Regions from separate parts of the Homo sapiens genome. Here region 2 is linked to region 1. Evidence: promoter capture Hi-C in 16 types of primary human blood cells and fetal thymus (Javierre and others, 2016). All regions are on one chromosome and are shown on one strand. Each heading gives the region's core, a stretch centred on a gene start or on the middle of the fragment in contact. The rest is flanking DNA. Distances are from core to core; before and after follow the strand shown.

Region 1 (5,258 bases), core at 2,108-4,607:
CCCTAGTAGAGGTTCTCCATGAGGGCTCCACCCCTGCAGCAGACATCTGCCTGGACATCCAGGCATTTCCATACATCCTCTGAAATCTAGGTGGAAGCTCCCAAGCCTCAACTCTTGCCCTCTGCATACCCACAGGCTTACCACCAAGCGAAAGCTGCCAAGGGTCAGGGTTTACACCCTCTGGAGCAGCTGCCTCAGACATATTTGGGCCCTTTTAGTCATGGCTAGAACTGCAGTGGCTGGGATGCAGGGAGCAGTGTCTTGAGGTTGGTCAGGGCAGTGGGGCTTAAGGAAGTGGGACACCCAGACCCTGGGGCCAGCCTGCAAAATCATTCTTCCTTCCTAGGCCCAGCTTGAATTACTCCTGAGAAAATGGGTTTTTCTTTTCTACCACTTGGCAGGGCTGCAAATTTTCCAAACTTTTACACTCTGTTTTCCTTTTAAATATGTTTCAGTTTCAGATTATCTCTTTGCTCACAAATATAAGCTTATGCTGTTAGAAGCACTCAGGTCACATGTTGAATGCTTTGCCACTTAGAAATTTCTTCTGCCAGATACCCTAAATCATCATTCTCAAGTTCAAAGTTCCACAGATCTCTAGGGCAGGGGCACAATGCCTAGAACCTCTTTGCTAATGAATAACAAAAGTGACCTTTGCTCCAATTCCCAACAAGTTCTTCATCTCCATCTGAGACCACCTCAGCCTGGACTTCAGTGTCCATGTCACTATCAGCATTTTGATCACAACAATTTAACAAGTCTGTGGGAAGTTTCAAACATTCCCTCTTCTTCCTGTCTTCTTCTGAGCCATTCAAACTGTTCCAACCTCTGCCCATTACCAAGTTACAAAATTGCTTCCACATTTTCAGATATCTTTATAGCAATGCCTCTCTCCTGGTACCAATTTTCTGTATTAGTCCATTCTCACATTGCTATAAAGAACTACCTGAGAATGGGTAATTTATAATGAAAGAGGTTTAATTGGCTCATGGTTCCACAGGTTGTACAGGAAGCATGGCTGGGGAGGCCTCAGGAAACTTACAATCATGGTGGAAGAAGAAGGGGAAGCAGGCACGTCTTCACATGAGGAAGCAGGAGAGAGAGGGCAAAGGTGGAATGCAACACATTTTTAAACAACCAGATCTCATGAGAACTCACTATCATGAGAACAGCAAGGGGGAAATTCACCCCCATGATTCAATCACCTCCCACCAGGCCCTTCCTCCAATGCTTGGGATTACAATTCGACATGAGATTTGGGTGGGGACACAGAGCCAAACCATATCACTATTCAAAGGAAAAGACGTTATTATATGAAGAAGACACATGCACACGTATTTTTATTGCATCTCAGTTCACAATTGTAAAGATGTGGAACCAACGTAAGTGCCCATCAACCAGTGGGTGGATAAAGAAAATGTGGTATACATACAGCATGGAAGAGTACTCAGCCATAAAAAGGAATAAAATAAAGTCTTTTGTAGCAACTTGAAGGGAGCTGAAGGCCATTATTCTAAGTGAAGTAACTCAGGAATGGAAAACCAAATACCATATTTTCCCACATATAAGTGGGAGCTAAGCTATGAATATGCATAAGCATACAGAGTGTTAAAACGGATTTTGGAGATCCCAAAAAGGGAGGGTAGGAGAAGGGTGTGGGATTAAAAACTACATATTGGGTACAACATACACTACTTGGGTGATGAGTGCACTAAAATCTCAAAATTCACCGCTGTATAATTCATCCATATAACCAAAACCCACTTGTACCCCCAAAAGCCATTGAAATTTTTTTTAAAATGTTTAAAAAAAGGAAGAAAGACACAAGGTAGGCATTCTTTAAATGTGGAAAGAATGGCTAAGGGAAGCAAGAATAATGTGAGAATAAGCACAGAGTAGCAGTGAATGTGGTATACATAGGGAAAAGTGAAGGAAAAGGGTGTCCAGAGACGCGGGCTCTCTGTACTGATTGTGCGGAAACCGGAGTTAACTCACAATTTTCAGTGGCACTAGCACTGTCAAGTGCTTTGTTTGTTGTTTGTTTTTTCACCCAAGAAAGGAAGATGTTCAGACTACAGATTGTGGTCAAGAAATTATATATTTTAGGTGAACAAACAGCGAGGTTTGGACATGAAGGAAGGCACATACACTGCACAGAGAAACAGCTCTTCCCAACTCTAAAATTTAGACGTTTATTTGGGAAATTTTGTTGGGCAGTCTAAATGCAGGAAGATTAAAAAGGACTTGGAAAATCAACAGGGTATCCTGCCTTCATGATGCTGTGAGGCATTGTGCCCCAGAGTGAAAACTGCATTTTTGTGAGTTGGTGTGGCAGGCTTGGAATACCACCTCTTTCAGCAGCTCACTCAGGTCTGGCGAGGGCTATTTGTACCTCAACGAGGGCTTCTCTCCAAGAAAGCCCTGAATCCTTTTCCTCCTTTTTCCTGCAGATTCACTATAGGACACTTTTTGAAGCAAGAGCATGCATTTTCCCCCTGGCGCTCTGCAGCGGTTCTCAGAGCCCAGTGTCACTCACATAGGTGGGACTGCTCTCAGTTCAGAGAGCGCTGGGACACTTAAGATGAAAAGTCCCTGGAAGTTAGCAAACAGCCATCTGTCACTCTGGCATCGATTTACTAAAAGTGACTTCTAGGGTATTCTAAACCACTTTTAAAAAACAAATGAGTCACTTCGACTTCCTCACCCCGCAAGAGATAGGAAGGCAGCAGTGGAGTGCTCGCTCAGGAGCTGTATTTGTTTAGCGATTAGCCTAGAGCTTTGATTTTAGGGCAAAAGCGAGCCAGACAGTGCGGCAGACGTAAGGATCAAAAAGGCCACCTATCATTCGCCGGGGACGCCTGCCTCCTTACCCTGATAACGTAACTATTTCTCTGCATAGGATTTTAGTTTTTGTGTTTTTGTTTTGTTTTATTCTGTTTAATCACTTCAAGTATCTCATCCATTATTTGAAGCGGGCTCGGAGGAAACGTGCCGCATCCTCCAGTCCTTGTGCGTCTGTTTAGGTCTCTCCGAAGCAGGTCCCTCTCGACTCTTAGATCTGGGTCTCCAGCACGCATGAAGGGGTAAGGGTGGGGGGGTCCCCTATTCCGGCGCGCGGCGTTGAGCACTGAATCTTCCAGGCGGAGGCTCAGTGGGAGCGCCGAGAACTCGCCAGTACCGCGCGCTGCCTGCTGCCTGCTGCCTCCCAGCCCAGGACTTGGGAAAGGAGGGAGGGGACAAGTGGAGGGAAAGTGGGGCCGGGCGGGGGGTGCCTGGGAAGCCAGGCTGCGCTGACGTCACTGGGCGCGCAATTCGGGCTGGAGCGCTTTAAAAAACGAGCGTGCAAGCAGAGATGCTGCTCCACACCGCTCAGGCCGCGAGCAGCAGCAAGGCGCACCGCCACTGTCGCCGCTGCAGCCAGGGCTGCTCCGAAGGCCGGCGTGGCGGCAACCGGCACCTCTGTCCCCGCCGCGCTTCTCCTCGCCGCCCACGCCGTGGGGTCAGGAACGCGGCGTCTGGCGCTGCAGACGCCCGCTGAGTTGCAGAAGCCCACGGAGCGGCGCCCGGCGCGCCACGGCCCGTAGCAGTCCGGTGCTGCTCTCCGCCCGCGTCCGGCTCGTGGCCCCCTACTTCGGGCACCATGGACACCTCCCGGCTCGGTGTGCTCCTGTCCTTGCCTGTGCTGCTGCAGCTGGCGACCGGGGGCAGCTCTCCCAGGTCTGGTGTGTTGCTGAGGGGCTGCCCCACACACTGTCATTGCGAGCCCGACGGCAGGATGTTGCTCAGGGTGGACTGCTCCGACCTGGGGCTCTCGGAGCTGCCTTCCAACCTCAGCGTCTTCACCTCCTACCTGTAAGTACTTCCCCACGTCACTCCGGGAGAGAGACTAAGAGGGGAAGGAAGGTTCGTCCAAGGCGAGGCTGGAGGCTCCTCGGCGCCCGCCTGCTCGTGGGGGAGGGGGGCGAGTTTGTCAAGGGCATCCTGGCCAGGCCTGTTAGGGCCCCCAGAGAAATGCACGTGTCTCGGGGAGTAGCGTGCCGGCACTTTCTGGACCCGCAGAGAAATGGCTTCGAGTGCAACCCGGGAAAGCGCTGCTGCGCCGCAGCTTCCCAGTCCAGCGCTAGAAACATCGCAGGGCGAATTCCTGCAAATGCAGGCATTTGCGTGCGGAGTGGACATTTGTGACCCAGAGCCTGGTACCCAAAGGCAGGCTGCCATCTGGTCCCCGCCCCAACCGCCTCTCTGCGTCTAGTCGCATTCCACGAAAAGATGGTCTGTAGAAAGTTTCCCCAAAGGAGAAACAACTTGCCCAGCTCCAAAGGGTTTTTAGTCTGCATCCCTTGCACTGTGACGTGATGTAACCTTTTTGGGGTTTTTTCCTCTTTTCCTCCCTTCCTTCCTCCCTTCTTCCTTCCTTCCCTCCCTCCTTTCTTTTTATTTTCTTTCTTTTTTAACGGCGTGATTAAAATGTGGCAACCACAAACCCCGATTAGAGCTGCCAGAACGTTATCTTTACCTTTGGCTGCCCGCGCCGCCCTTTGAAGTGCCCGCGGCCGCTGTGTAATCTTTAACCATCTCTTCCCCCGGGGAGGAAAGGGGAAGTGGGCTGAAGGCTGTTGGGCTGGTAAACAGCGGCACCGACACCCAAAGGGAGACCTGAAGCTCTCTATCATCCCTGGGGGATTCTCCCACCCCTTCTCTCCCCACTGCAACTTCCAAAGCCCTGAGGCGGCGGCTCATTGCGTAATTTTTTCTGTGGAAAACCCAGGCCCGAAGGTAACAGGTAGTTGGGTGAACGCGGTGACCCAGGAGGAACCCTATTCTCGGAGACCAAGGCGACTACTCTCTCCACCCCCGTGCAAAGCATCTGGGGCTTCATTCCTTCCAGCAGAGAGGCCAGGTTCTAGGCCACTCTGGGAAACAGGTGCTCCTTACCACAAGGTGAAACATTTAGGTTTTAGATCAAGACATTGCAGCGAGCCCACCCCAAGCCCATGCAGTCCCAGTTTTCGGCTTCTCTGATGTACCTTGGCAGGAGAGAGTTGGGATGTTTGTGAACCAGTTCTTCCATCTGTTTAGTTGTTTTCTGGAGGGAAGAAACATGAAGAGGCTTGCACAACATTTTCCACTAGGTAGTGATTCTTTTTCTGGAGACAGAGTGAGGAAGAAAAAAACATCTTTTACTTGCTTTAATATTGTCTTTAAAGAAAGGTACCATTCTGCTAGATTTTAGGATTGGTAGATGGCAGGTCGCCTCC
Region 2 (6,063 bases), core at 3,204-5,703, 300 kb after region 1:
GATCCCAACTACTTGGGAGGCTGAGGTGGGAAGGTCACTTGAGTTTGGGAGGTTGAGGCTGCAGTGAGTTATGATTGTGCCACTGCATTCCAGCCTGGGCAACATAGTGAGAGCCTATCTCAAAAAAAAAAAAAAAAAGAAAAGAAAAGAAATAAAATAAAAAACAAAAAAAGAGCCTGGGTGCAGTGGTTCTTGTCTGTAATCTCAGCACTTTGGGAGGTCGAGGTGGGAGAATCACTTGAGCCCAGGAGTTCAAGAGCAGCCTGGACAACATGGCAAAACCCTGTCTCTACTAAAAGCACAAACATTAGTCTGCCATGTTGGCGAGCACCTGTAGCCCTAGCTACTCGGGGGCTGAGGCAGGAGGATCGCTTGAGCCTGGGAGGCAGAGATTACAGTGAGCTGAGATCGTGTCACTGCACTCCAGCCTGGGTGACAGAGCGAGACCCTGTTTCCAAAAAAAAAAAAGAGAGAGAGACAGAAACTGTTTTCTAATTTTGATTTCCAAATGTTGCTATTATAAAGAAATACAACTGATTTTGTTTTGTTTCGTTTTGTTTTTTGGAGACGGAATCTCGCTCTGTCGCCCAGGCTGGAGTGCAGTGGCGCGATCTCGGCTCACCGCAACCTCCGCCTCCCAGGTTCAAGCGATTCTCCTGCCTCGGCCTCCCGAGTAACTGGGACTACCGGTGCAAGTTGCCACGCCCGGCTAATTTTTTTAAAAAATATTTTTAGTAGAGTTGGGGTTTCACCGTGTTGCCCAGGCTGGTTTCAAACTCCTGAGCTCAGGCAATCCGCCCGCCTCGGCCTCCCAAAGTGCTAGGATTACAGGCGTGGGCAACCACGCCCGGCCTACAACTGATTTTTTAACATTAAAAATCTTACATTTTGTCCCAGCTACTCGGGAGGCTGAGGCAGAAGAATGGCGTGAACCCGGGAGGTGGAGCTTGCAGTGAGCCGAGATCGCGCCACTGCACTCCAGCCTGGGCGACAGAACCAGACTCTGTCTCAAAAAACAAAACAAAACAAAACAAAACAAAACAAAACAAAACTTATATTTTGTGACTTGCTAACTTCAGTTTGTGGTTCTACTAGCTTTTTTATAGATTCCTTAGGATTTCCTACATCAACTATCTTATCTTCTATGAGTAAAGAGAATTTTACTTCTTTTCAATCTTTTTGCCTTTTATTTCTTCTTATTGGTGTATTAAAATGTCTAGGAACTTCAGTATAATGTTGAATAGAAGCGGTGAGAGCAGATAGCCTTGCTTTGTTCCTGATCTTAAAGGGAAAATGTTCATTCTTTGACCATTATCATATTAGCTGTAGTTTTTCACAGATGTTCTTTAACAGATTGAAAAAGTCCCTTCTATTCATAGCTTGCTGAGAGTTTTAATCATGAGTGTGTGTTGAATTTTGTTTTTTTCTGAATCTATTGAAATAATCATATTGTTTTCCTCCTTTATTCTGTTAGTATAGTGAGTTGCATTCTTTGATTTTTGTTATTGTTGTTGTTAAATCTATTCTGGATTACTGGGATAAACTCCACTTAATCACAGCGTATCATCCTTTTATATATTACTGGATTTAATTTGCCAATTTAAAAAATCACTCTTGTGTCTAGAGTTATGAGGGATATTGACCAGCAGGGTTTTCTTTTTCTTGTAATTTCTGCCTAATTTTCGTTTTAGGGTAATGCTGGCATCATAAAATCAGCTGCAGCCAGGCATGGTGGCTCACACCTGTAACCCCAGCACTTTGGGAGGCCAGGGTTGGAGGAACCCTGGAGCCCAAGTGTTTGAGACCAGCCTGGGCAACATAGGGAGATCCCATCTCAACAAAAAAATAGAGAAAATTTGCTGGGTGTGGTGGCAAATGCCTGTAGTCCCAGCTACTTGGGAGGCTGAAGTGAGAGGAAAACGAGCCCAGGAGGTCAAGACTACAGTGAGATGCGATCATGCTACTGCACTGCAGCCTGGGTGACAGATTGAGACTCTGACTCAAAAACATAAAAAATAAAAATACAAAACATAATAAAATGAATTGAAAATGTTCCTTTGTCCTTAATCCTCTGAAAAACTTTGTGTAGGATTGGTATTATTTCTTCCATTAAATATTTGGTAAAATTCACCAGTGAAGTCATCTGGCTCTGACACTTTCTTTGCTTAAAATTTATAAATCATAAATTCATTTTATTTAACAGCTATAGTGCTATTCAAATTTCCTATTTTTTTGAGTCAGTTAAAGGAATTTTAAAATTCCTGTCTTTACAGGAATTTTAAAATTCCTGTCTTTACAGGAATTTTTCCACTTCATGTAGGCATTAATTCACATGAGATTTTCTTTCATGGATTTTATATCCATAAGATCTGTCATGATATCCCCTCTTTTATTTCTCATATTAATAATTTGAGTTTTCTTTCTTTTTATTCTTGCCAGGTTTATCAGTTGTTTTAATATTTTCAAAGAGGCAACTTTTGGCATTGTGAGTTTTCTCTACTTGTCTGTTTTGCTACAAATAATTATCTTTTAAAGAGATTAAAATATGAGGAATAAATTTAATGTTTCTTTCTCAAAGATTTCCCATTCCAGGTACTCTTCATTCCTTTGCACAGATCCACATTTTCATAATTTTTCTTCTGCCTAGAGAGCTTTCTTATAGTGCACATTTACTTGCAATGAATTTTGTCAGCTTTCATTGATCTGAAAATCATTTTAAACTTCATTTTAAAATTTTTAAATTTAGTTTTTAATAAACCTACATCACTCAACAGTACTCTCATCCAAGTACTAACTAGGCCCAACCATGCTTAGCTTCCAGGATTGGACATGACTTCATTTTTGAAAGACATTTTCACTGGTAGATAATTACTGGTTGAATATTTTTTCTTTTAGCACTTTAAAGATACCATTTGATTGTTTTCTGGTCTGCATAACTTCTCATGAGAAAATTGTTACTTTTTAAAAAATCTTTGTTCCTTTGGCTACTTTTCTCTTCCACTGGTTTTCAACAATTTGAAACTGATTTCCTTTTATGGAGCTTTCTGTATACCGCTTCTACTTTGGGTCTGTTGACTTTTTTGGATCTCTGGATTGACAGTTTTTATCAAATTTAGAAAGTACTTGACCATCTTTCAAATATTTTTGCTCACCTATCTTTTGCTAGGATTTCATTTGCATATACGTTAGACCACTTGATATTGCCCCTTGGCTCAATTCACTTATATTTGGTCTTTTTTCTGTATACTTCATTTTGCATAGTTTCTATTGTTCTTACCCAAGTTCACTGATTGTTTCCTCTGCAATGTTTAATGGGCTCTTAATCCCATCCGGTTATTTTTCATTTAATAAATTATATTTTTATCTCTAAAAATTTTATTAACATATTTTATGTCTTCCATTTCTCTCCTCCTTATGTTCACATTTTCCTTTAATTCACTTGTGTATTTTTTAAATTTATAGTAGCTGTTTTAATGTTTTTGCTCGCCAATTACATCACTTCTGTCGTTTCTTGTCCCATTTCTATTGACTAATTTTTATCCTAGTTATGGATCATATTTTCTGCTTCTTTGCAGGCTGAGCCATTTTTTGTTAGATGCTGGACATTGTGAACTTTACATTGTGAAGTACTGAATTTTTGTATCCTTTTAAAGAGTTTTGATTTTTGTTCTGATGTTCACTTTAATACACCTGAGGATTAGTTTGAACCATTTGAGGCTTTGTATTAAGCTTGTTATGGTGGGTCCAGAGAAGACTTTACTTGGCTGTTTGTCCACACTCCTAAGGCCTGACTCTTCTGAGGGCTGTACCTGATGCCCTGTCTATGACAAGGCCTCTCCAATCCAACTGGTGGGAACACAAATTATTCTCTGTATGAATGCTGGTAATTATTTTGCTCATTCTTTTCCGGTGTCTACTTCCAAAATTCCTTTCAGTCGCGTGCAAATCAGTACTTAGTCAAATATTTTATGAAACCCCTCTACAGTTCTGCAGAAGTCTGTCTCTACTCAATGCCCTACCCTCTAGTTCTCTGTCTCACAATTCTAGCAGCCTAATCTCCCCGAACTGTGATTTCTGTCTTCATGAGTTTTTTGTAATATTCCTTTAAAGTTATTGTAGTATTCCTATGGAGTATGCAACTTTATTCTGGAAGGTAATTAAGTGACTTTTGGATCAACTTCATCTTTTCAAGGTTTGATTTTACGTGTTTTAAGGTAAGTAGAGGTAGCCTTTACTGTAGAACTAGTTTAGCTCTACTATTAAGCTGAAACCCTCTGGGATCTCTACTCAATGGCCCATTTATTCAATGAGGTCTCTCTACTTTCTCTGATGGGCACTAAAATGATCCCCAGGCTTTTGGGAGTTCTAAAAATTTTCTACATTACAGCACCTCTGTAAATGTTCATTCCACAGCATTTGTTCTTTGCCCAGCCTCATGGAGTTTCACCCTTCAGGCACACAGATTTGAATTTAGTCTCAAAGACTCAAGGGAGGAAACCCTATGCAAATTTCTGGAGTTCTTTTTCTAGCTCCTTTCTCTCCTTTTTACTGTCCCACAAATTTTAGCTGCTTCGGAACCCCTGAACTTCAATTACTATCATCCCATCTTAATGAGACCTTCCTACACTGTGGTTAGAAATTGTCCCCAGACAGAAAGCCAGTGCAGTTAAAATGCTCATCTAGATTATTTCCCTTCACTCAAAGATCACAGTCCTGTGCTGCCTGTTGTCCATTTGTTTAATTCCACCCTCTCCACCCTGTTTCTTGTTGTCTACAGTAGGAGGGAGAGGAGTCCCAGAGTAGTTACTTCTTTAAGCATGAAAGCAAAAGTCTAGCTTTGACTTAATAATCAAACTGATTCTTTGTAGCAGTCCCTGAAATTCTTGAACTTACAGAGTCAGTGATTGAAAATGGTTGATGAAACTTCCTTTGCTTTTGAACATGAAAGAAAGCGCATGAGGATGGAGGCAGTAAGATGCTATATTAATGCTGTCAAGCCCATAGTTCATGGCAATAGTCTTTCTAATGAAAATCATGCCGGGGGTATTATTATAAGGCCATAATATCAATTTATTTATTTATTTGTTAATTGACAAATTAACATATTTAATTTCCCTTTTTCCACAGAGCATCATAAGGGGTCCTATTGGGGAAGAGAAGAATCGTTGAGTTTCAGCCAAGCTTTATCTCCTTATTGAATCATAAAAAATAATACAGCTGGCCTGGCGCAGTGGCTTATGCCTATAATCCCAGCACTTTGGGAGGCCGAAGCGGGTGGATCACTTGAGGTCAGGAGTTTGAGACCAGCCTGGCCCACATGGTAAAACGCTGTTTCTACTAAAAATACAAAAATTACCCAGGTGTGATGGCGGGGGCCTGTAATCCCAGCTACTTGAGGGGCTGAAGCAGGAGAATTGCTTGAACCCAGGAGGTGGAGGTTGCAGTGAGCTGAGATCGTGCCACTGCACTCCAGCCAGAGCAACAGAACGAGACTCCGTCTCAAAAAATAATAATAATATAGCTCATAAAATCTATGCCTGGAGAGATTTTCGTGTTTGCTGCTGTAAAAGTGACAACAAATAATATACCCATTATTAATAAATGGTTTTCAGTTATTTATTGATTTAACAAACTATTTTTTAATGCCTACAATGTGCCAGGCACTATAGTAGGCACTGGACATACAAATATAGAGAAGAAACAGCATCTGATGTCAGGGAGCTTATGACACAGTGAACAGTCCAGCTCCTTGTCTTAGTCCACCTGTGCTGCTATCACAATATAACACAGATTGGGTAATTTATAAAGAGCTGAACTTATTTCCCACAGTTCTGGTGGCTGGGAAGTCCAAGATCAAGGTTCTGTGTCTGGTGAGGGCATTTTCCTCATAGATGGCACCATCTAGGTGTCATCACATGTCAGAAAGGATGGAAGGGCAAAAGGGGGATGAACACTATGTCCTTTCACATGGTGGAAAAAGTGAGAAGAGTGAATCCATTTTCTCAAGTCTTCTTCTAAAGGCCCTATCCCATCCATTAGGGTTCTGCCCTCATGACTTAATCA

Evidence for each region. Contacts are between HindIII fragments. The CHiCAGO score rates a contact against its expected background, and 5 or more counts as called.
Region 2: a fragment that was not itself captured here is called in contact with the fragment with the promoter of LGR5 in region 1 in 1 of 17 cell types (activated CD4 T cells); the score reaches 5.9 in activated CD4 T cells.

Annotation. Positions count from the first base shown.
Region 1 is chr12:71,436,441-71,441,698 of GRCh38, forward strand. It overlaps LGR5 (leucine rich repeat containing G protein-coupled receptor 5), which reads left to right and starts at 3,358. Exons shown (of 18, transcript NM_003667.4): 1 at 3,358-3,852. The coding sequence starts at 3,641. It overlaps LOC124902962 (a long non-coding RNA gene), which reads right to left. Exons shown (of 3, transcript XR_007063364.1): 2 at 5,028-5,147. The HindIII fragment of the contact is 5,220 bases long and covers 486-5,258 here.
Region 2 is chr12:71,732,917-71,738,979 of GRCh38, forward strand. No RefSeq gene overlaps it. Among named protein-coding and RNA genes, the nearest start is that of RAB21, 19 kb to the right of the region's middle. The HindIII fragment of the contact is 1,452 bases long and covers 3,728-5,179 here.